Regions from separate parts of the Homo sapiens genome. Here all the other regions are linked to region 1. The links are contacts of gene promoters, found by promoter capture Hi-C in blood cells and fetal thymus (Javierre and others, 2016). All regions are on one chromosome and are shown on one strand. Each heading gives the region's core, a stretch centred on a gene start or on the middle of the fragment in contact. The rest is flanking DNA. Distances are from core to core; before and after follow the strand shown. Region 1 holds the start of EMILIN2 (elastin microfibril interfacer 2). Region 2 overlaps SMCHD1 (structural maintenance of chromosomes flexible hinge domain containing 1). Region 3 overlaps LPIN2 (lipin 2). Region 4 overlaps SMCHD1 (structural maintenance of chromosomes flexible hinge domain containing 1). Region 5 holds the start of LOC124904236 (a long non-coding RNA gene).

The links. Contacts are between HindIII fragments. The CHiCAGO score rates a contact against its expected background, and 5 or more counts as called.
Region 2: a fragment that was not itself captured here is called in contact with the fragment with the promoter of EMILIN2 in region 1 in 1 of 17 cell types (monocytes); the score reaches 10.2 in monocytes.
Region 3: a contact is called between a fragment that was not itself captured here and the fragment with the promoter of EMILIN2 in region 1, in 1 of 17 cell types (monocytes). The highest score is 6.9, in monocytes.
Region 4: a fragment that was not itself captured here is called in contact with the fragment with the promoter of EMILIN2 in region 1 in 1 of 17 cell types (monocytes); the score reaches 8.7 in monocytes.
Region 5: a contact is called between a fragment that was not itself captured here and the fragment with the promoter of EMILIN2 in region 1, in 2 of 17 cell types (monocytes and M2 macrophages). The highest score is 8.6, in monocytes.

What each region holds. Positions count from the first base shown.
Region 1 is chr18:2,844,715-2,849,625 of GRCh38, forward strand. It overlaps EMILIN2 (elastin microfibril interfacer 2), which reads left to right and starts at 2,292. Exons shown (of 8, transcript NM_032048.3): 1 at 2,292-2,608; 2 at 3,095-3,217. The coding sequence starts at 2,475. RefSeq lists silencers at 2,510-2,559, 3,180-3,269. The HindIII fragment of the contact is 11,570 bases long and covers 1,248-4,911 here.
Region 2 is chr18:2,680,819-2,685,729 of GRCh38, forward strand. The region is part of intron 5 of SMCHD1 (structural maintenance of chromosomes flexible hinge domain containing 1); the gene reads left to right. Among named protein-coding and RNA genes, the nearest start is that of SMCHD1, 28 kb to the left of the region's middle. The HindIII fragment of the contact is 4,888 bases long and covers 1-4,764 here.
Region 3 is chr18:2,997,067-3,001,977 of GRCh38, forward strand. The region is part of intron 1 of LPIN2 (lipin 2); the gene reads right to left. Among named protein-coding and RNA genes, the nearest start is that of LPIN2, 14 kb to the right of the region's middle. RefSeq lists enhancers at 1,079-1,178, 1,249-1,398, 1,666-1,765, 1,880-2,802. The HindIII fragment of the contact is 6,417 bases long and covers 1-4,911 here.
Region 4 is chr18:2,698,157-2,703,067 of GRCh38, forward strand. SMCHD1 (structural maintenance of chromosomes flexible hinge domain containing 1) reads left to right here. Exons shown (of 48, transcript NM_015295.3): 11 at 2,383-2,503; 12 at 2,579-2,762. Among named protein-coding and RNA genes, the nearest start is that of SMCHD1, 45 kb to the left of the region's middle. The HindIII fragment of the contact is 1,203 bases long and covers 2,577-3,779 here.
Region 5 is chr18:2,977,307-2,982,217 of GRCh38, forward strand. The region is part of intron 1 of LPIN2 (lipin 2); the gene reads right to left. It overlaps LOC124904236 (a long non-coding RNA gene), which reads left to right and starts at 1,049. Exons shown (of 2, transcript XR_007066268.1): 1 at 1,049-1,664. The HindIII fragment of the contact is 4,754 bases long and covers 1-4,672 here.

The DNA.
Region 1 (4,911 bases), core at 1,042-3,541:
AATAAATAAAAATACAAAAGAGGGAAGTAACCTTCTGAAAGTCAAGAATGTTCTGTCTTCCAGGGGCAGACCCACAATAACATACATGGGCTTATGTCTAGAGAAAGACATGCAATAAACATTAGCTCACTTAGTTGACTGTCCATCAGGAACGCTAACACCCTTCATTGCATGGCAATGCCTGGAAGCTCTCCAAACACAAGCCCCGTGTCAGTTTGGGCTCACTCATGAATCCTCAGTATTTTTGCACAATGCCTAGCTTGTAACAGATGCTCAGAATGAAATTTATTTACCAATAAATGTTATTGATAGCTGATTAAATATAGTATTGTGGTCATCTCAATGACAAGTTGGCCCTTATACTCTTAGACAACTTCCTATTATAACTTTGATTTGACGGAAAAAACAGATTGACTTGATCAGTTCAATGCACTTTCAAGTTTGAGATTTACCTGTACCAGACACACATTGGAGTTGTTCTCTGCTAATTGTAGACACACACAACTTGTGTGTTTCCCCCATTTCCCCCCCTCTTCCTCTTCTTCATTTCTATACTCTGTTTCTACTCTATGAGTCTTTACGGCCAAGATGGTGTTAGGACAGGCAGGATAGGGAAGTCACACAGAAAGATACAGATTGGGTTACGAAAGACAGCTTTTTATCCCTTTCTGTTATTTCCCCCCCACGGTGGCTCTTTTGAAGGCTGGGATGACTTCAGTCCACTATTTGCATGATCTTCCGCTTAAGAGTCCAGGGACAGATGATGTCCTTACATGGTATAATGTTCTGCTTGGCCCTTGTAGTTTCTACTTAGGGACTTCTCTTTCTTTCATCTGCAAATCAAAAGGTCCAACAACACCATCAAAGAATATTAGAAACAAAATAGACCAATGGCTTCATTTAGTAAAGTAGGAACATAGCAAACGTTTTTATTTTTTATTTTTTGCGACAGATTTTCACTCTTTTTGCCCAGGCTGGAGTGCAGTGGTGAGATCCCGGCTCACTGCAACCTCCATCTCTCTGGTTCAAGCGATTCTCCTGCCTCAGCCTCCCAAGTAGCTGGGATTACAGGCATGTGCCACCGTGCCCGGCAAATTTTTTTTTTTTTTTTGTACTTTTAGTAGAGACGGGGTTTCTCCATGTTGGTCAGGCTGGTCTTGAACTCCCGACGTCAGGTGATCCACCCGCCTCGACCTCCCAAAGTGCTGGGATTACAGGCGTGAGCCACCCCGCCTGGCCCATAGCAAAGCTTTATTCACTTAACGAGTCATGGCCAACAGCGTCTGGTTAGCTCACAGAGGCCACAGTTTTATCTGTGGAGTCTGGTAACCACGCCACTCACGACCCTGTACATTGATTAGATGCAGCAGGTCATCTCAAACACACAGCTCTCTCCAACACCCCTTAGAATACAACACTTGGGTGGTGATTTTACTTAACATTCTGGTACTTCATCCCAAAAAGACATCGGTAGAGATTAGTGTAACTCAACAACAGGCAGAAAACATACAAGAAAGTTTAAGACGGATGTCTAGCAGTGCCTGAACTGTTAAGAAGCAAACGTGAGTAAATGCCTTAGTTTCAATAGAAAAAGAAAGTTCACAGTGGGACCTCAGAAGCAGAGGCTGTGAGATCACCTTTCAAGAATTGGAGGAGAATTGCAGTAAGTGATAGAGCCGGACGCTGAGCTGCAGCAGCCTCTGGGAATTGGCGGGGCTGTGGCTTGTCCTGTCCTGCCGCCCCCCGCGTGGCCTCGGAAACTGTCAGATGGTGCCTAAGGCAGAGTTGGGCAAAGAAAGAACCAGCGTTCGTTTCCTCCTGGACTCTCTAGGTCCATGGAGCTGGTGGGGGAACGGCCCTGTCTTGCCCGAGGAGGAAATTCGAGTCGAGCCCCCACTCCTCTCCCCGCGGGACTGATAAACATGTCCCTCATTCGCCCCGGGAGGCTGGCACCCAGGCACGACGCGAGGACGGCCAGACTCGCCGACGGCGGCCGCGTCCCGGGGGGCCGGGAGCGAGCCTGTCGGAAGGTGGGAGGCGGAGTCGCTCGGCATCTGGGAAGAGACCAAAGGAATGAGTCATTGGAAATGCTGTAACGTAGACCCTTATCCCAAACCCTTTCGCCCCTCCACCCCGAGCCCCCTGCCGAGAAGCGAAGGGACTGGAGACGGGGAGACTTGGTGGGGGGAGAGTCACGTTTCGGAGAGGGAAGTGAAATAAAGAGGGCGGCACCCGGGGGGACCTGTGCGTCATTGAGGGACCGGGGAGAAGCGCAGGGCGCACGGGGCTGCAGAAGGAGAAGTAGGAACGAGAAGCCGGAGGGGGCGGCCGCGGAGCACTGGTTGGAGCGCCGCGAAGCGCCCGAGCCTCTTGCCTTCGCGGGCGGCGCCCTGGCCGCCGGCAGCCTTGTGGCCGGTGCCCCGATCCGCCGCGCTCCGGACCCGGGCAGGCGGGGCGCGCCCGCTGCGCGCGGGATGTGGCAGCCCAGACGGCCCTGGCCCCGCGTGCCCTGGCGCTGGGCGCTGGCGCTGCTGGCCCTGGTTGGCGCGGGGCTGTGCCACGCCGGCCCGCAGCCCGGGTATCCCGCGCGGCCCAGCGCCAGGAACAAGTAAGTGCGCGCCCCTTGGCTGGCCCCAAACCGCCTACCCCTCCCCGGCCCCCAGTTGAGCCCCAGAGCTGCCCTGCCAAAGACGACGAGCGGCAGCCGGGGGCCTCCCTTGGACTTCCCCGGGCGGCTCCCTCTGCGGGGGACCGCGCGCTCCGCAGCCGGCGCCTCAGGCAGAGCTGACTCCGGGGGCGTGGGCGCAGAGAGCGTCCCGCAGACCCGGGCGATCCGAAAACGACTCCCAGGAATTCCATGAGCCCCTGGGACCATGGGTGCTTTTCTTTCCCGTCTTGGTCGGGTCCAGGCGCGCGCTCTCCAGAGGCGCACCCGGGCACCCTCCGGCGTCTGCTCGGTGAAGCTCCCGCCTCCGCAGAGGGCGACGGGCCCCCCCGACCCTCGCTCGGTCTGGTGCCGCAGTCCCCTCTCCCCTGGCCTCATTGTTCTCCGGGTTTACCCCGTGCCCCTCTCCCTCTCTCTCCTGCACCCCAGGAACTGGTGCGCCTACATCGTGAACAAGAATGTGAGCTGCTCCGTGCTGGAGGGAAGTGAGAGTTTTATTCAGGCTCAGTACAACTGTGCCTGGAACCAGATGCCCTGTCCGTCGGCGCTGGTGTAAGTCCTGGAGCCGGGGAGCGGGCGGGGCGCGCCCGGGCCGGGGCGGTGGGGGTGGGGTGGGGTTGCTGCGCTGGGCTCCAGTCCCTCCGGTAAATCCCTTCCAGATCCGGTGAAAAGCCCGCAGCGGAAAAGCGCTCCGAGCGCTCGCGGGGCACCGGCCACGCTGGGCTATTTAGGGAGTGGGTGCTGCCCGAGTGAGTGGGGAGGATGCGCGCGCCTCGGGAGTGTGGGGTCGCGGGGGCGTAGGAGAGGATGAACAAAGCTCCCACTCCCACTTCTGTTTTCTCCCTTTCAATGTTTGTTTGTAACATAAGGCAGCTGAATCTAATTGGATCCATATTGTGTGTTCTGGGGCACACAGAAGATTCCAAAATGTATACTGCTAAAGACTATTCCGTATAGGATTCGCTGAGAGGTTTGGCTAAGTAGTGTTCTAAAACGAGTGAGTTCTGTCCGTATGTCCCCATAAAACGGAATCTTCCAGTTTTGTAGATGTCTAAGCTAAAACCTCAGGAACACTTTGCTTAAAAGTGTGGCTCCCCAGCATCCCTCCCCGCAACTTAGATTTGGAGATTCTCTAGAGATTGTGGGAGAGAATGGCCGTTAAAGACAGGGGGAAGAATTAATCATCTTTTTGCTTATAAAGATTTCCCCATCTTAAAAAAAAAAAAAAACAGGAAGCAATGCAATAAAGTACAAATGCCGTTAAATACATGACACTCATTCAATTGTCATCAGGCAAGTCTTTGGGGGTTTTGTATCAGTCTGATACCGGAAGATGGGCCAGTGTGAATAAATGGCTGTTGAGGAACACATGTGATGGCTGAAATTAATTGTTTTCCACTAAGAATAAGTTGTTTGTCTTAGAGCACAGTTGTCATTACAGCAGAGAATAGTCAGTAGGCGGATCTGTCTTTGGCAAAACCAAGGGACAGACTGGAACTTGTACTCCAGGAAACCTTATTCCAGAGAACAGTAGATGAGCCTGTAGTCTTATGGGAAGTGGTCGCTGGGTCCACCCCACGTGGGCTTCTGGAGGAGCTGCCAACAGGGTTCAGCTAATTCCTGCTCGGCAAAAACAAAGTAAAACAAACAGAAACTTAGACGAGGTCCCCATTTCCTAATATACAGTGGAAAACGCTGAAATTGAATGCCCAGCTAGGCTATCTCTTTGAGTTGGATACATTGTCAGAGAGATAAGGTACTGTCATCCAACCTTAATCTCTTAGTAAGATTGAGACCTCATCGTCTATGGCCAGCAGTCAACGACATCAGAACCAAGCAAGGTTTTTACACTGTGGGAGTGATACAAACTAAGTATTCAACTCAGTTTGAATGCATTTGTTTAAAATTAGAATTGAGTTATTAGTCAGGAATATTTTATTCATCTTATACAAGAACTGCATGGTGTGGCTTGCTATAACCTTAAAACTTACTGGTGACAATTCGGAGATAAATGAATTTTTCATTTTGGGAGGTAATGCATTTTTGTTTAAAAGATGGCTTGTTTTTATTTTCTCAAATTATTTTAGCTGCTTGGAAAACCAAAGGATGATTTAATTGTTCTATTTGACCAAAACTCAGTGAAACTTGGCTGTCAGTGGGGAGTGAATCGCCTCCAGATTGGCAGGTCAATGCAAGGCAGTGGGAGTGCATTTTTGCCACCCAGTGAGTAGGACAACAGAATTATT
Region 2 (4,911 bases), core at 1,071-3,570, 160 kb before region 1:
CTGATTGATTTTGACAGTTTTTTCAGGCATTCTCATTACTTTCATCAGTGAGTGGATTCTTGGAAGTCCTTATGCCACCATTCTGGAAGTGTTCACTCGTTTACTGATTTTTGACAAATATATACACTTGTGTATCTCAAACCCTTGTTAAGATATAGGACAATAAGCTAGACTCAGTGGCTCACACCTGTAATGCCAGCACTTTGGGAGGCTGAGGCAGGAAGATTGCTTGAGCCCAGGAATTTGAGACCAGCTTATGCAACATGAGAACCCACCTCTACAAAAAATATTTTAAAAAATTAGCCAGGTGTAGTCCGGGCATGGTGGCTCACGCGTGTAATCCCAGCACTTTGGGAGGCTGAGGTGGGCGGATCACCTGAGGTCAGGAGTTCAAGACCAGCCTGGCCTTCATGGCGAAACGCTGTCTCTACTAAAAATACAAAAATTAGCCAGGTGTGGTGGTGTGTGCTGGTAATCCCAGCTGCTCAGGAGGCTGAGACAGGAGAGTCACTTGAACCTGGGAGGTGGAGGATGCAATGAGCCGAGATTGCGCCGCTGTACTCCAGCCTGGGTGACAGAATGAGACCCCATCTCAAAAAAAAAAAAAAAAAGGAAAATTAGCCAGGTGTTGTGGCTTGCACCTTTAGCCCCAGCTTCTCAGGAGGCTAAGATGAGAGGATCGCTTGAGACTAGGAGGTCGAGGCCGCAGTAATCCATGATCACGCCACTGCACTCCAGCCTGGGCGACTGAGTGAGATCCTATCTCTCAAAAAAAAAAAAAAAAAAAGGATATATAACATTACATAAACCTAGAAAATTCTCTCATAACTTGGGCACTATAAGAATTATTGCTTTAGAATTTAACTTGGATACCTGGGACATAATTATAATAGTATGTGTATAATTATTTTGTAGGGGAGAGGTATGACATTAGTTAGGTCAGCTGGATTCAGGTATGTGTTGGGTCAGCGCTACTCTTTCTGCACTTTCAACTTGCCCATCAATTAAAAGGCTCTCAACTCAGAGCCATTTTGTTGAAATATGAATAAGTAAAAATGCTACATGACCCATGCCGTATGTATTTTAAGCTGTAGAAATGGATCCCCAACAAGATTTTTCCTAATATTCCTAAAGAAAAAGCTGGTTTGTCTTTGTTGGTTTTCAGCAAATTAAGATGAGCTTTTGTTTTCTAATATTTGTGTTTACTTGAATGTTGGGAATACGTTTGTAACATCTAAGCACCCTACTTTAATTTGGTCATTTCCATATGTCTGGCACATTTATTCTAGAGGCTCTGATAGAGATTGGTGGCCAGTTTTGTTAGAGGTGGAGTTTTCTTAAGTTTGGTGTTTTTTTTTTCCTCCTTTGTTAGATTCAAGATAGTGAGACATATACATACGTAGTTACTCTACCCTGGCTTCCTGGCAATCATTTAGATAGTTTCTTTTACTAATTTGATCCTCTTCGCTGATAACTTTTTCTTTTCTTTCTTCTTCTTTTTTTTTTTTTTTCCTTTTTCTTTTTTGAGACAGAGTCCCACCTCTCAGCCCCAGGCTGGAGTGCAGTGGCGTGATTTCAGCTCACTGCAACCCTGCCTCCCAGGTTCAAGCAGTCCTGCCTCAGCCACCCAAGTAGCTGGGATTATAGATGCACACCACCACTCCTGAAAAATTTTGTACTTTTAGTAGAGGTGAGGTTTCACTATGTTGGCCAGGCTAGTCTTGAACTCCTGACCTCAGGTGATACACCCACCTCAGCCTCCCAAAGTGCTGGGATTATGGGCGTGAGCCACCGCGCCCGGCCCCCTGATACTTTTTCTTACTTGAGACACCTCTTATGTTTTGTTTCCATCAAAATTTCCCAAAGATTAAGTGTCCTTTCATTGTATGAAGATTATGAATTAAGATATTTTCTGAAATATTTTTGGACTTTGATGTAAATTTATTCCTGAAGGAGATTAATTTCCTAATTCTCCAGAGGACTGCTGTGGTGTAAAACTGTTCCTTGAACTTGTAGTTTTCTACTTTTATTTATATTCATGAAGGGATATTTATATAGTCCTTGAGTGGATATAGGAATTTTTCTAGACTCATTAACACAAGTCTGAGACTGTCTTGAAATAAATATTCTCAGCCTTACTTGCTGTGATAGAGTTGTTGCCTAGATTTGGTTTGCATGGGTCATTTAAGTTGAAAAAGGGATTTATGATTTTGTGCATTTCTAACTAGTGGAGAGAATTCTTTAGTTTTGCATGACCTGATGTATGTATGTTGTGTTTTATCAGTGAGCTTCTCCTTTCTCTAAACTTTTGTATATTTTCCCAGAAATATTTTAAGGAAAATATCAGAGAGTATTTTCAACTTATTTCCTAGAAGTATTGCCATAGTAACTGAATACTTAGAACTCATTTACTTTTTTTTTTCTTAATAAACATTAGCTCATAGACTTTGGTTAATCATAATTCTAGGAAATAAGTTGCAGCATCTCACAAGTTTTGTTACACTGTATTTTCTGTTTCATTCAGTTTAGTCTACTTTTTTCCTTTGCAACTTGGTATTTAACCTGTGGATTGTTTTAAAAGTGTGTGAATTTATAAGTGTTCCAACATATTTTCCTATTGTCTTTCTATTGATTTCAAGTGTAATTTCGTGATAGCTAGAGAATGTACTCTTAAGTGATTTCAGCTGTTTTACATTTGTTGCGTTTTATGATCCAGGATGTTATCTATCTAGATGAATTTTCTATGTGTCTTTGAAAAGAAGGTGTATTTTGCTCTTGTTGGGAGAAGTGTTCTGAAAATGTCAGTTAGATTCTACTGGTTGATGATATTATTCATTTCTTTATATCCTTGCTGGATTTTCTGTGTGGTAGTAACTAGGGGGTATTGAAGTCTCCAAGGATTGTTATGCCTTCTGTGCCTTCTTGGTTGACCAACCCTTTTATTCATTATGTAGTGTTGCTCTTTGTCACTGGTTATTTTCTTTGCTTTGAAGTGTACTTTTTCTGTTAGTGTAGCCATCCCAGCTTCTTTTCATTTGTGTTTTCATGCTATATCTTTTTTCATCCATTTTCTTTTAATGTACCTTTATTATTATATATGAAATGGGTTTCTTATAGACAACATATAGTTGGTTCATGTTTTATAACCACACTTACAATTTCATTTAGCGTCTTTGTATTATTACATTTAATGTAATTAAATGTATAATGAGCATTTCAGATTTTGTATTTTTGAATTTGAGATGCTCAACTTGTACTTAAATTTTTTGAAAGTCAAGCTCAAACTAGATGCTCAGCAAGACTATCTTTGGAGTTTGCGGGGAAGAGAGAGATCCTGTCAGACATACAAAATCTGAAGAAAATTCACCAAGAACAGACTCAAGTTATAAAAGAATGTTTAGAAAGATCTTCAGAAAGGAAAACAATACTGGATATTATTACGTTATCCAGAAAGGAAAATAATACTGGATATTATTACATCCATAATGTAATTAAATGTAATAATACAAAGAGTGATCATCTGTTTACCCATTTATTTGTTTTAATTGTTCTTTGTTCATTTCCTGGTATCTTTTATTGACTTTCTCTGGTGTTAATATATTCATTCTAGCTTTCTTTTCATTAGTGTTAAAATGGTAAATGTTTTTCCAACCTCTTAACCTATTGTCTCTTTATATTTAAAGAGGGTTTCTTTTACGCTATAGATATTTGTGTCTTAATATTTAACAATCTCTGCCTTTTAATTGGAGTGTTTAGATCAGTTGCTTTTAATTGGATTATTGATATGTTTAGATTTAAGTTTACCATCTTTGTTAATTTTTTATTTTTCCTGCCTATTTTTTGTTCCCATTTTCTTTTTTTTCCTGCCTTATTGCAGATTCAGTGTGTGTGTGTGTGTGTGTGTGTGTGTGTGTGATTCCATTTTATTTCCTTTTTGGCTTATTAACTATAGCTGTTACTTTACTGGAAACTCTAGGATTCATAGTATAAATCTTTAATTTATCACAGTCTGTATTAAGTAATACTAAACCACTTCGCATATAAATACATCACAACAGTATACTTCCGTTTATGCTATCTTGGTCTTTGTACTTTTGTTTTTGTACATTTTACTTTGGCATAAATGTCAAAGTACAGTATTGTTATTTAGCTTTAAATATTCATTTGCCTCTCTCCTTAATGTAAAAAGGCTTCTTCTCAACTTCCTGACATTTCTTGCTAAACTATACACGTCTGCCCTGTTTTCCAACAGCACACTGTTCTGTTCTGTCCCTTATTTTTTTCTTTTTTTTTTTTTTTTGAGACGAGTCTCGTTCTTTTGCCCAGGCCGGACTGCAGTGGTGCTATCTCGGCTCACTGCAAACTCTGCCTCCCGGGTTCACGCCATTCTCCGGCCTCAGCCTCCCGAGTAGCTGGGACTACAGGCGCCCGCCACCACGCCCGGCTAATTTTTTGTATTTTTAGTAGAGATGGGGTTTCTCCGTGTTAGCCAGGATGGTCTTGATCTCCTGACCTCGTGATCCGCCCACCTCGGCCTCCCAAAGTGCTGGGATTACAGGCGTGAGCCACCGCACCTGGCCTATTCTGTCCCTTTTTAAAGCAGTTCTCTTTTAAAAAATTGTGGTAAGATATAAATAACATAAAATTTGCAGTTATAACCATTTTAAAGTATATAATTCCATGACATTAATTACAGTCACAGTCTTTTACAACTATTATTACTATGTATTCCTAAAGTTTTTTTACCCTGTACCCCCAAATTGAAGCTTTACCCATTAGACAGTAACTCCCTGTTGCTCCCACTCTTAGCCCCTGGTAACCATTATTGTACTTTCTGTTTCAATGAATTTACCTAATCAAGGTACCTTATTTAAGTGGAATTATACAGTATTTGTCATTATACAGTATTTG
Region 3 (4,911 bases), core at 854-3,353, 150 kb after region 1:
CACCTCCCGGATTCAAGCAATTCTCCTGCTTCAGCCTCCCGAGTAGCTAGGATTACAGGTACCCACCCCCACGCCTGGCTAATTTTTGTATTTTTAGTAGAAACGGGGTTTTGCCATGTTGGCTAGGCTGGTCTCAAACTCCTGACCTCAGGTGATCCGCCGGCCTTGGTGTCCCAAAGTACTGGGATTACAGGCTTGAGCCACTGTGCCTGGACTCATTTTTGTTTTTTGTTTTTTTTTAGTAGAGATGGGGTTTTACTCTGTTGGCCAGGCTGGTCTTGAACTCCTGACCTCATGTGATCCACCCTCCTCAGCCTCCCAAAGTGCTGGGATTACAAGCATGAGCCACTGCACCTGGCAGAGGCTTGTATTTTTCTAAACATAACAAATTCAAAGGAACATTAATGAAGTCAAAGCTATAGCAGTCACTTTCAAGACATCATCAGAGTACCAGGCCACTATGCCTATAACTCTGCAGTGTGCCACAATGAAACCAAGACAGTGCCCCAATTCTGATCAAAAGGTGACTTCTGCTGCATAAACAATTCACAAACCTTACATATGGCATCAATCATTGTTTAATGACTCCTGTGGGGGGAGAGCAGGCTCTTCCATAATTACTAAAAGCAGTATAACTCAAAAAGAAACAAAAAGTCACCAATTCATCAGCTTACTTAGCTGATGTCACAGAAGTAGCAGGAGGATTCCTTACCCCCCATGCCACAGACTTAGTTTTTCAAACATCTCCAATTTCTTGCTTTTAGCTCTCAAGGATGCAGTCCCCCAGCTTCCCAGAGGGAAGTCTGCTAGATCGGTAAGCATGAATTCACTACTTCCCTACTGTTTCCTTTGGAAGTGCCTGAAGTGTCTCCTTGTCTCAGTTAAACAGAACATGGTGACCGTGAGGCAGAGTTTCCAGTGCCAGGCAGCTCCAGGCACCCTGTGCCTGTGTTCTGCAGAGGAGTCTTTCCCAATGTCAATCAAAACACAGCTCAAGTTTCATGCCCTGCTTTATTAAATTCTGCATGGTGCCCACTGGGACCACAATGGAATCTTCAGAAACGTAAGGAGAGGTACCTCCCTTTCCTGGCTCTGGGAGGACACTTGGGTAAAGGGAAAGGCTGTGGCCATACCAACAGCACTGCTGCAATCAATGCCACCAATCACTCAGATTTAGGCTATTTTTAAGTAGTTTTGCAAAACAAATGCCAAGTAAGGCTGCACCAGTGTGTTATCACAAGCTGACTTGCATACTAAGCTACTTCAACAAGAGAGAAGGACTTCCAAGAGCAACAGCAAGTCAGCGAAACAGCACTTGAAAGTCAGAAAACAAGGCCTCTTTCACTCACTGATCTGCTCAACAGCAGTGTCTATTCTATTCTGAGAGCTGGGGATCAAGCAGTGAACTTGGCTGACAAGGTACCTGCCCTTGTAGTGGTTATATTCTAATGTGGGGAGGGAGAAAACAACAACAACAACATATGTTAGGCTGGGACAACTATTATAAAGGAAATAAAAGAGGGTGCTGCTCCCTGAAGAGAGGGAGGAAGAGCAGGAAGAGCCACTTTTAAGGAAAGAAAAGCGTTGTAGAGCCCAGAACAGGAAAATACATGACAGATTTTTTTTTAAGCAACAAAGCTCCAAGAAGGCTCATATCTGAAAAAAGAAATAGAGTATAACATGGAGGGACAGAGCATGATGAGAACCTGGCTAACATGTTCACGAAACTATGCCAGGATATAGATACGGTTTACTTTCTCATAAGACACTACTGCTGTTCTTTCTTTAGTCATTTTGCCAACCTTCAAATGACTTTAGAAACAAACCAAGAGTGAAAATGAGACAACTCAGATACTGTCATTAAACATTCAGGAACATGCAGAAATTTTGGCAGTCACAAGTCTGAACAAAAATCTCCAGTTGTAATCTAAAAATTACTTCCTAAGAGTTTCTTTCTGATCATTAGTGAAGATAGGTGTAACTAAAAGCATCTTTAAAAATATTGCTCTAACTAGACATCCTGTTAAACCCAGAGGATGTCACATGTGTTATCCCCACTCTCAAAACCCACTGTTTGGGTTGAAGTATATCCTCCAAAAAAGAAACGCTGAACTCCTAACCTCTGGTAGCTCAGAATGTGACCTTATTTGGAAAGGGGATCTTTACAGAGGTATTCAAGTTAAAACGAGGTCATTAAGGCTGGCCCTAATCCAGTAGGACTGATGTCCTTATAAAAAGAGGAAATCTGGTCCAGGCGCCGTGGCCCACGCCTGTAATCCCAGCACTCTGGGAGGCCAAAGCGGGCGGATCACGAGGTCAGGAGATCGAGACCATTCTGGCTAACATGGTGAAACCCCGTCTCTACTAAAAATACAAAAAAAAAAAAAAATTAGCCGGGCGCGGTTGCAGGCGCCTGTAGTCCCAGCTACTCAGGAGGCTGAGGCAGGAGAATGGCATGGCCCGGGAGGCGGAGCTTGCAGTGAGCCAAGATCACGCCACTGCACTCCAGCCTGGGTGACAGAGAGAAACTCCGTCTCAAAAAGAAAAAAAAAAAAGAGGAAATCTGGACAGAGAGACAGACATGCACACAGAAGAACGCCATGTGAATATAAAGGCAGAGATTGGGGTGATGCATCTGCAAGCCAAGGAACGCCAAAGGCTGCCAGCAACCCACCAGCAGCTAGGAGAGGACGCTAATAAAAATAAACATCCAAGAATGAGAAAGCGCTCTTGGAAATTAACACACAATTGTAAAATTAAGACATTCTATAGAAGGGTTGGAGAATAAATACCAGCCTGGGAAACACAGCAAGACCCTGTCTCTACAAAAATTAAAAAATAGCCAGGCACGGTGGGTCTCACCTGTAATCCCAGCACTTCAGGAGGCTGAGGTGGGAGGATCACTTAAGGCTGGAAGTTCAAGACCAACTTGGGCAACATTAGTGAGACCCTATCTCTGTTTTGTTTTTTTTTTTCTTTTAAAAAGAAGAAGAGGAGGAGGAGGAGGAAGAGGAGAAGGAGGAAGAGGGGAAAGAGGGGAAGGAGGGGAAGAAGGAGGAGGAGGAGGAGGAGGAGAAGGAGAAAATGTAGAAAGCAGATCTCCCAGTAAATCCAACAAGGATAAAGGAATGGGCAAAAGGAGGAAAAAGATGAATATCAGAGCATCAATCCAAAATGGCCCCAATATCTGACTTGTAGACTTTTTAAAGTACAGAAACAGGAGAGGAAAAAAAGGTAGGGAAAGGCAGGAGTTGGATATTATCAAATAAATCATACAAGAAATTTCCTGGCGTCAGAAACATGATTTTCCAAATTGAAAGTTCCCACCAGGTGCCCAGCTCAAAGGATAAAGAAACACCTGCACTGTTGTGGGCTCCACCTATGGCAGTCACGACAGAAACATGCTAATAATAGACAACGTTAAAGGCTACACAAAGGATTCCAAAATCACCATATGGGCACGACTACACAAAGCAGGATACACACCATGCCCTCCATCAGATGTACGGCACGTAGTGCCAGCTACTTCCCCAACATCATGAGTGTACACAGCTACAGATGATTCTACCTGTGGGGAGAGGCCTCACCAGGATTGATAAATACCCACTACAGTCTCTGGGTGTTTTTATGCCCTCTGGCCTGCGGAGACTCTGGTGACATAGGGCCTGCTAGCCAGGTCTAAGTAACGAAACAAGGCCAGGGGTAAGGATTCACTGTGAAGCCAGGTAAGGTGGGTACTTCCCGTGTTCCCTCCTAAGAGACTGTGTCTCGTCCAAAAACTGAGATGGCAAATCCCAAACCAAGGTGCTTCATCAAGAGATGGTAATGAGATACTTTAAAAAGAAACAAAGAAAGGTGCTAAAAAAAATGGGTAGGGGGGAAAGGATAGGAAAATGGGGAAAAAGAGGGGGGAGAGGGAGGGAGAGAGAGAGAAATTAAAAAGACTTGAGACTTCTCAAAAAAAGGTAACTTCTCAAAAGTAACAATTCTAAAGGAAAACTATTTCCATTCTAGCATTCTATAGCTAGCCTATCAGTTGGGTAGGAGGCTCAAATAAAGACATTTTCAGACACGTAAGCTCTCAAAGAATTTCCTCCCTGTAAACCCTTTCTCAAAAAGCTGCTAGAGGATGTGCTCCATCAAAATGAGGAGGCATGCCAAGAGAGAAGACAATGTGTAATCCAGGACTCAGAATCCAACACAGAAAATTACTGGGATTCAGGATGAGTGAGGTGTTGACTGCAGAGTTCTGTAGTCCTATCAGAAACTGGGGGCCTGAATTTGTGACTGGTACTAAGAAATGTAAACCAATAAAATAATTGTTGACTCCAGAGAAAAGAAAAATTTGAACTGGCAAAGAAATAAAAATCACTGCATATGCTCAGCTGTAAGCAATATTTAGCCATGAAAATATAAACAATGAATATTAAGAAAATTAGAAAATGGTATTGAGAGCTTAGTATAAAGAATTGTGCGTGTGAGAGGAGGGTTATATAAGAGATGAACCTTCATCTTGCAGCGTAGGAAATCAATAGAGAAGGTCTAAAATGAAAAAAACAAGCTACAGTAGTGTATGCATACAAGCATGGAATCAAATCCCACAAGCACAGAAAAGAAATGAAAGGGGCTTTTGCTAGGGAGCAGTAATCAGCTGTGAGAAAGAGAACTGGGGTTTTTCATAATAAACCTCACAGTACTATGTACTTAAATGTTTAAATTACATATAAAAATAAATACTTAAGATTTTAAAAGATAAATAGAACTATTATGTGATATAGCCTAATGAATAAGAATCACATTTACAGAAATGAAAACTACTTAAGGGAAGGAAAATAGGAACACCAAGCAAATATAAGCATTGTAAGGCTTTTTTTGTTTTGCTTTTAATTAGGAAAAGTTCCTTTCCAACTC
Region 4 (4,911 bases), core at 1,928-4,427, 150 kb before region 1:
TCTTATGCAAGTCTTAGATTGTTAGGTATTTGTAATTTTTGTAATTCCTGATTTTTGTGTACATTCATTTCTAGATGAATAAATCTTTAATGAACTCTTCTTTTAGTTCTGTTACGAAACCAAACTTTTAGATATGTATGCGTATTAATCCTTTATATGTTCCCTTGTCTTCTCTTTATCCTTGTTGCAGTTTTACACTTTATGCAGTCATATTTACTAACTTTTTCTTTATGCTTTCTGATTTTGTCTTACTGTAGAAAGGCTTTTTACATCTCAAAATTATATAAATCTGTAGCTTTTTTGTTTTTGTTGTCATTTTATGGTCAATGCATCTGTGTTTTTCTTTTTTGTATGTAGAGCAAGGTGGGGTTTTATTTATTTATTTAAATTTTTGAGTGATGGGGTCTTGCCGTGTTGCCCAGGCTGGTCTTAAGATCCTGGCCTGAAACAATCCTCCTGCCTTGGCCTCCCAAAGTACTAGGATTACAGGTGTGAGCCACCACACCTGGCCCCCACCTTTTTTTCCCCCCCCAGTAGAGAGATAGGGATTTAACAATTATTTTCTATGTGGTATTCATATTCAGTTTCTTAGCACCAGTTATTGAATGTTATAATTTACCCAAGAGTTAGAACTTGTATAATACAAAGTTCCCATAAGTACATAGGTCTAGATTCTTTACTATAAAGTACTATTTTATTTTTTTTTAATATGAGTAATGATACTGTCTTGTAGCTTTATCTTGTAATTTGGTATCTTTGGGAAAAAACATTTTCACTATTGTTCCTTTTTGAGAATACTTTTGCTCTTCTAGATAATTTTGGAATCAGCTTTGTACATTCACTTGAAGTAATTCTAGTGAGATTATTGGGATTGCATTGAATTTATAGGTTAACAATATTAAACTTTTTCATTCAGAATACTTCCTTAGTACATTCTTGGTTTTCTAGGGCCTGCAACCAGAGATCCTGATTCGAATCCCATCTTTGCCACTTTCTGTTGGACAAACTACTCCCTGCCTTAGTTTCCTTACCTGGGAAATGGGTAGTTCACACCTCATAGGGGTGTTGTGAAGATCAAATTTAAAAACTGGGGCAACTTCTCAGAATAGTGCTCAACACTATTTATTAAGTGCTCCTGCCCAGTACATATTGTTACTCAGTGGCTCCACTGGCCTTTTTGGTTTTGTTTTTTATTTTTTGGAGACAAAAGTCTTGCGTTGCCACACACGCTGGAGTGCAGTGACACAATGTAGGCTCACTGCAGTCTCTGCCTCCCAGGTTCAAGCAATTCTCATGGATCAGCCTCCTGAGTAACTGGGACTACAGGTGCCCACCACCATGCCAGGCTAATTTTTTGTATTTTATTAGAGACAAGGTTTTGTCATGTTGCCAAGGGTAGTCTCAAACTTCTGAGCTCAGGTAATCCTCCCACCTCAGCTTCCCAAAGTGCTAGGATTACAGGCGTAAGCCCCTGTGCCTGGCCATCTCTGACCTCTTAAATTTGCTGTTTCCAATTTTTGTGTGCTAATAGACAAAAAGATATAATTTTTTTCAAATGCTGCCTTAAAAAGAAGAGCAAGTAAGTTGAGTGATCAATCAGAGGGATTCTCCTCTAAGAGCAAAGTGATTTTGTTTGATTGAAAGCAGCTTTTATATAAGGGACTTCTTGTGAGGGCTTTTAGGGAGAAGGTTTTGTTTTAGGTGGGTAAACTAATTCCAGGGTAGCTGAGGTGTTAATATGTCAGGATCACATTGTTTAATCCTAATTTATCTGGATACACGAGAGTGTGTTGCTAATAAACATAAGATTATAGACAATTGTGCAAATTAATGCTCTTGATGCATAGTAACATGTCTTACAGTTCTGTGTACATTTTTCATGCTTACTTGAATCTGAAAATAATTTCTAAAAAGTAAACTTAATTTTAGCATCATTCACTAATTTGTTCAAACTAGGTAAACTCGCTGCTATTAGATGTCATAGATTTCTCAGATGACTTTCATGTGAACATACTAGTTCTGATAAAATTGTGAAACTGTTTTAGATACGGGATTTAAGCTCCTATATTTGTAGGAAGGAGGGATTTTGTTATAGGGGATAATCTTTTTGGATGTAAGACTCTTTTAGCCTCATGAATAGGTTTTAAAGATGACAGGCCCAGCAGCTAGTACATTGGTTCATATATAAGTAATTATTGACTTCTAAATGACAGACAGCATTCGTAATGTGGAACCACTTTGTAAACCTACCTTTTTGTGGGCAAACAGTATAAAACTACCTTTAGGTTTTATAGAATGCAATTTGAAACATTTATGTGTTTGTTTCATTATTTCTCACATTTTAGCAATAAACATTTTGTTCCATTTGCCCTTTTGATCTAGAATTAAAAGATGAAGATGATGAAGATGATTGTTTCATACTTGAGAAAGCAGCTAGAGGGAAAAGGCCTATTTTTGAATGTTTTTGGAATGGACGATTAATACCATATACATCAGTTGAAGAGTAAGTTTGATTTTTGCTGAAATTATGTTTTTACAACTTAATTCTTTTACTAACTAACATTTTGTTCTGTTCAAGCTTTGACTGGTGTACTCCTCCTAAGAAGAGAGGGCTTGCACCAATTGAATGCTACAATAGGATATCTGGTGCATTATTCACTAATGACAAATTCCAGGTCAGCACAAATAAATTGACGTTTATGGATCTTGAGCTAAAATTGAAAGATAAGAACACCCTTTTTACAAGGATTTTAAATGGACAGGTATGATTTTTAAATATAAAGTTGTGAATATTTGCAAATGTTTTATTTTTAAGTAAAAGAAGACACTAGCAGTGTAGGTTTTTATTGATATTTTGCATCAAAAGACTATGATGTATAAATTTTTTTATGAGCAGTCAAGTGTTCACATTACTAAAAAATTTAAAGCTAATTTTTTAGTAATGACTAAACCTACCTAGTAAAGACTAGGTTTGGATAGAATTTACATATCTTCATTAGTTTTTTTTGTTTTTTTTTTTTTAAGACAGGAGTTTCACTCTGTTTCCCAGGCTGGATTGCAGTGGCTCAATCTCAGCTCACTGCAACCTCTGCCTCCCAGGTTCAAGCTATTCTCCCGCCTCAGCCTCCCAAATAACTGGGACTACAGGTGCGTGCCACCACGCCTGGCTAATTTTTGTATTTTTAGTAGAGATGGGGTTTCACCATGTTGGCCTGGCTGGTCTCGAACTCCTGACCTCAGGTGATCGACTTGCCTTGGTCTCCCAAAATGTTGGGATTACAGGCATGAGCCATCGCACCCAGCCAAGATCTTAATATCTAGCCCTTGACATAGTAGAAGCCACAGAAGCATCTTAATGAGAACATGTATGAACAATTGTATTTGCTTTAAGGGCTATATTTGTATATTAATAACCTAGTTGTGCAATTTTTAGCTAGTCTTGAGGGTAAAAATGGGGTAAAACTGTGAAGTACTTTGAGCTAAAAGGTGATTTGAGATTGATCAGTATTAAAATACATGTATTGATTAATACAACAAGAATGATTTCACTTTGAAATTTGTTACAAAGTTGAGTGAAACTAGTATACTAGTGTACTTGTATTCTGTGAACAGACCTCAGAGACTTTTGATACTACTCTTTCAGTAGTTTAATGTTGAATTGCCAAGAAATAGATGATTTTATTATCAATTTATTGCTGGGCAATAAATACAGTGCATAGTACATAGTATTTGTAGTCAGTCAGTCCTGTAAGATGTTGAAATTAATTTTGCTCTTATAAAGCTTGTGAATCATAGAAGATTAGGACACTTTTAAGAATTATACACCGAGAAAGACCTTATCAAAATGAGTTACTACTCCTTTATAATACACTTAGAATTCATTTATAATATGGTGTTAGTTATCCAACATTTATTGAGCAGTGGGTGTTTTCAAAAGCTATCCAGAATAAGTTAATTCTATTCCTTTGTTACACTGTACTTTTAAAATATATATTTTCTAATTTTGAAACATTCAAGCTGCGCATAATGGTTCACACCTGTAATCTTGGCTACTTGAGAGGCTGAGGCAGGAGGATGGCTTGAGGCCAGGAGTTCAAGACCAGCGTGTGCAATACAGTGAGACACCTTCTGTATTTAAAAAAAAAAAAAAAAGAAGGAAATGTTCAAATACACAGAAAAGTTGAAAGAATATTATAAAGTGAATATCTGCATACTTTTCCCCTAGGTTACCTGTCACCTTGACATGCCTTCTGAATTGTACTTTGACTGTTACTGAGTGTCTGGAATTAATGCATTTGGTAATTTGTTTGGTTGATAGTGAATCCATCCTGAGAGTTTTAGAAGGGTAGTTTAACATTTTGGTTGTCAGACTTTCTGGTTCCTAGTTACTAATTTAATCTCCATGTCAGCTGGCAAACTGACAACAATGATTTGCTGATTTGGGAAAGAGTTGGTACCTAGTTATAGGAGTAAGTGTGGCAGCAATTTCCCAGAAACTGTATACCATATTGGACCTGTGAGTCTTTACCATGTATATATATTTCCTTTTTCATTCATATAACTTTAAAAAAATCAAATTTATTAATAACTAAGATAGTATCCTTCTTGACAGCAAGCATCAAAAACTTAGGCTGAAATTATTTTTAATTTTGCCTTACTTTCCTTTGGAAATGGTATATTATGGTATAAGGTACGTAAGAAGGAATGGAGTTCTGTAACTTTACAGACTGTCCTCTGCGAAAGCATGTAATGGGGAGATTGTCTTACCTCCTCATTGCCCTAGAGGCAGGCATCAAACAAGTGTATAGCACCTTATGCTTGAATACAGATTTCTGTATTCTCTCCCAACAGGGTGAAGAATGGTTGGCAAAAACACATCTTCTTAAGTATTATTAGAAAACACTTCAGTTT
Region 5 (4,911 bases), core at 1,046-3,545, 130 kb after region 1:
ACCCATGGTTTTAAAGTACATACACAGGTAACTAGATGCACAAGCACTGATGTGTTTATACCTGAGCTAGAAAACACACTCAAATATCCTAACTCTCTGTTAAGAGGACCTAGAATCAAGGATACTCTCAAAACAATGTGCATATCTATGGCTCAGATCTTGCTTTCTGAATATCATTCTCCAATAAAAGGAACCAGGGTTCCTTGGAAAAGTGGTTGATTCATTCCATGGCTGTGGGCAGGAAAATACAAGATAATGCTGGAGCATCTCGTGGAGTCAGAGACTGGGAAATGCTCAAAATCAAAAGAGCAAACGTATGTCAGAGAAAAAACAGGAGTATACTCCCAAGAGCTAAACACAGGACAATCTGAGCAACAAAACAGGATTACTAGATTACAATTAGCTGAATAAAATATTCTTGAGTCCTCACTGATAGAATAAATTAATATATAAGTGAGAAATGACAGCTCTTACAGATGAATTATAATTAATGAAGAAAAAATGAAGAAACTAGAAACTCACTATTGGAATATATCACAGTATTATTTATGGAAGGCAAGATCCATCAATGGATGTTAAAAACAGAAGACAAAGTTTGAGGAGAGGCCGGGCTCGGTGGTTTACACCTGTAATCCCAGCACTTTGGGAGGCCAAGGAAGGTGGATCACCTGAGGTCAAGAGTTCAAGACCAGCCTGATCAACATGATGAAACCATCTCTACTAAAAACACAAAAAGAAGCCGGGAGTGGTGGCACCTGTAGTCCCAGCTACTCAGGAGGCTGAGGCAGGAGAACTGCTTGAAGTCAGGAGGCGGAGGCTGAAGTGAGCCAAGACTGCGCCACTGCACTCCAGCCTGGGCGACAGAGCAAGACTCTGTCTTTTAAAAAATAAAAAATAAAAAAAAAAGTTGAAGGAGAAACAAGATAAACAAGATGTCTGGATATTCTCAAAGTATTTTCCCCAAGATACACATTCATTACAAAAGGAAAAAATTTTAACTCTATAGTAGAGAAACCTGGAAGACACCACCATAATCAAGTGATCGGGAAAACTTAAGACACACTGACCTCAGGGACTCCTGGTATGACTCACTGAAAAGGACTTTTGAGGTATTTTGACCAAAAACACACAACCTCAATCTAATTATGAGACAACATCAGACAAACCGAAGTAGAGACAAATTCAACAAAATATCTGACCAGTGCTCATCAAAACATCAAGGTCATGAGAAGCAAAGACTAAAGAACTGTCACGATTGGAAGAGACTAAGGAGACAGGACAATTCAAGGTAAGGTTGGGCTCTGGAACAGAAAAAGGACATTAGTAAGAAGAATCTGAATAAAGTCTGTAGTTTCATTTTCAAAACAAAACAAAACAGTTATTCTTGGCCTCCACTACTGCCTTCAATTCTGCTTCAGTCTGTCTGGGAAATCTGTATTTTCTTTTGAAAGCTCCACAGGGATTCACTCAGTGATGAGTCAGATGTGGGCATCATCGTCCTTGGGGCTCACTTCTCACCCCCGGTGCACGTTGCAGTCACTGAGGTGCTTGGGGAATCCTCATGATCAGGCCACCCCATCTGCAGATTCTACTGCAAGTACTTTTGAAAGCCTCCAAATGATCCCAGAATGTAGCACATCTCAAGCTGTGCCTCAGGACCACAGGTAGGTGGAATGACTCCCAAACCCTCTTGTTTTCTTGACAGTGAACAGAGCTGAAGAAGGGTGGTGTAGTAGTTCCTGTTCCTTTCCTGCCTCACTTCCTGGCCTCAAGTGATCTACCTGCCTGGGCCTCCCAAAGTGCAGGATTACAGGTGTGAGCCACCATGCCCAACTGAGATTTTTATTTAGATCCTTTCAGAGTTGTGTCCATCTCCTCTAGGCCAGGCCAGCAGCCTCACTTTTTGGGACACCTAAAGGCACAGTGATGTAACTAAGGTGTGTTTTCCCAATGCACGAAGACTACACCTGGATCACATCTACAAAACAGGGCTCACCAGGCACTCTAACGCACTGAGTATGCTGAGTATGTAATCAGGACCAAGTATCCAGGCAAACTCAACATGGTAGCATTCATACAGCCATTTGCTGGATATCTGCCCAGCTGTGTTATTCATAAACCCAGAGCAGCAAAAAATTCCGACATATTAGTGGAGGCAAACAAAAAAAAATTGATTTACATGCATCTACTGGACTCAGTTGTAGTACAATAAATATTTGCTAAATGAAGACAATTTTGTTTCCTCTACATTAATAGGCTTAGCTATGCAATATACAGTGTGTGTGGAGGCAGTCTGTGTGCATGTATGTTTTAATTGTAAACTACTTCTAAATCCTTCCTTACTGAAAACAGATGGGGGCACAAATATAAAAATGAATAATAAATAATTTTCAAATAGCCGAAACATATTCATGTCCACAGTCCCAAAACTACTCCCCCCCAAATTCCTGAGTTCATCTGTGGCGAGCATGCTTTGAAAACAAAGACTTTCAGAGAATTTACTCCCCCAAACTGCCTAACCAGTAATCTTGTATGGTCCCTCAATATATCCTCTTAGCAGGCCTCAGAGTTTTCATTTCAGTGCACACTGTCACTTGGCTAGTGAGCCTACCAAAGCACACCTGTAGGTTTACTAGAATCCTCTTCCTCCAATGCAGCTACTTCTGCTGCGCTTAAGGAACCATCACCCATTCACAGCTCAGTGGCAAGAGCACAAACACTCCTAAAACTTAGGGGAGTTAGGAGGGAGGAAAGGTATCATTTTCAAGCCCAAAGTTACTAGCTATGGAGAGTGGGAGCTAAAACATGGCTTGAAAATGGAACTCAGAAAATGTTTGTCTCAAAAATTTTAGCGAAACTTGGCCCTTATCCAGAAAGAAAGAGGAAATTCTTGCATTAGCCCTTCTTCCCCCTTGTTCTAGGACTCAGAACTCTGGTTGAGTTCTCTGGCTAATTATGAGACAGGCATAGCAACATTATTTCTATGAGGAAATAAAATTCCACTCAATTAAATAATTACTTTTTTGAACACTGGCCATGCTAGACTGGAGGAACACAGTTAGTTTTAGACTTGTTCACCTCCAGTTGTTCTAGGAATCTGGGCAGCAATCAGTAATGACAACGTGTTATGGTTCCCCACCACCAACCTCAGCCCCACCCCAAATCCTGGGTGGACTAAGGTTTCCTAACTTAGCATGATGCACGCTGCCTCGTATCATGTGCCCCACCTACAGGGTGACTTGCCACCTCTGACCACTGTTTGTGTTATTAAATCTGGTTGAGCTTTTTGGCATCAACCAGAGGTGCCCATGTCCTTTGATAAATAGCTCACAGAGATGAGAATTGAGGGACACTGCCCTCAGGGCTTCCTGGAGTCCCCTGAAGCTGGTGAGGATGTGAAGACTCAAGATCAAGTCTCGCTTCCGCTGGAGAAGAGGTCTGGGCTCTGTGCCGGGGGTTCTCTCTAACAAGAATGGTCAGGTGACCTCTAGAGTCCCCCCCCAGCTCTAAACTGCAGAAAAGCTCCAATTCTATAAGCATTTCTGAGGATTACAAGTTTGGCTAAGAACTCCTGTAGTATATTCTGCCCTAAATGGGGTGAAAATATGGCCAGTAGATTATTCTGGGACTTCAGGTTATTTGAATATAAAATAATTTAGCTTTTTCCTTAGCAAATAAAGGTATTGTCTTCACTTGTTTCAAAAAATATGAAAACATGGTCTTTGAAATTTCCCAATTTCTAACAAAGCACAGAAATCTTCTCATGGTTTTCCAAATCATGATATGATACATTTATATTCCCAAATCACAAAACCATGAGGAAAGACTCTTTCAAAACTGAAACTGTCACCTTACAAAAGGGGTGCCCAGAAAGGATGTGATTTGTAAGGAGTGTTCAGGTCACAGAAGGCCTGGACCCTGAAAACCAGGGTTCTCCCTCTAACCACACACACCCAGGTTATAAAGTCAAACTCCTATATAATCATTACAGGCTACTAAGCAGATATCAGATCCTTATCCCAAACGTTAGCATTAAGAAAACTCATGCTTCTCATGGGACAGGGAGGTGACTCATTAGACTTCAATGTTCTAACGGCAACATAAAATGGGACCGTTAATAAAATGCAGCCTAAGCAAACACCTCTTGACCTCTTTCTGGAAAACACCAGCAGACACAAGTCTTAAGAACTTCCTGTGAGGGAGAGTTTATGTGTGTTAGTGCTACTTAATATATGAATGTTTAAAGTATTTCGTAAAAAGTCAGCAAGGTTCTCTATTCTCCCTTCTGACCTTTACAACAAATGTGAGTGAGCCAATATGTGTATACATTCTATAATATTACAATGTTGATTTCAAAAGCAAACTGCCTCCCCCGTGGTAGCACCTGACTCTTCCATTCATATTCAAACCACGTCTTTCCATTAGTTCCTGAGAACTCTGAGTAAGTACACTTTCACTAACAGATCCAAAAGCAAAAAGCAGAGTGTGATAACATTTTTAAAGATAATAAACATTTGTATAACCTTAAAACTAAAATCAAGTTATGAGCCACAGATTTTAGAAACTAATTTTTGTCTCACTGATTTTATGCTTGTTTTCATAAAAATATCCATCCTTAATTTTAAAAAATAACCTTGAAAATAGTGTTTCCTTCCTATTATTTTTAAAGGAAAGCTTCCACAGGTAGAGTTACACTGTCCTCAAGTCACTTGATTTTGTTTCTTTAATGCAGATTTCTGGGACTTACACTAAGCTTACATAACTTGTTCTAAGTTATATTTTGTAACAAGAGAGAAAACTCTGGATTAAAGAAGTTCATACAATTTATATTTTCCCCACATACTTCAAGCTTACAAAAATTCTTGTTTATGATCACAGAAGAAAGCAACTGCAGCCACTCTCATATATCCA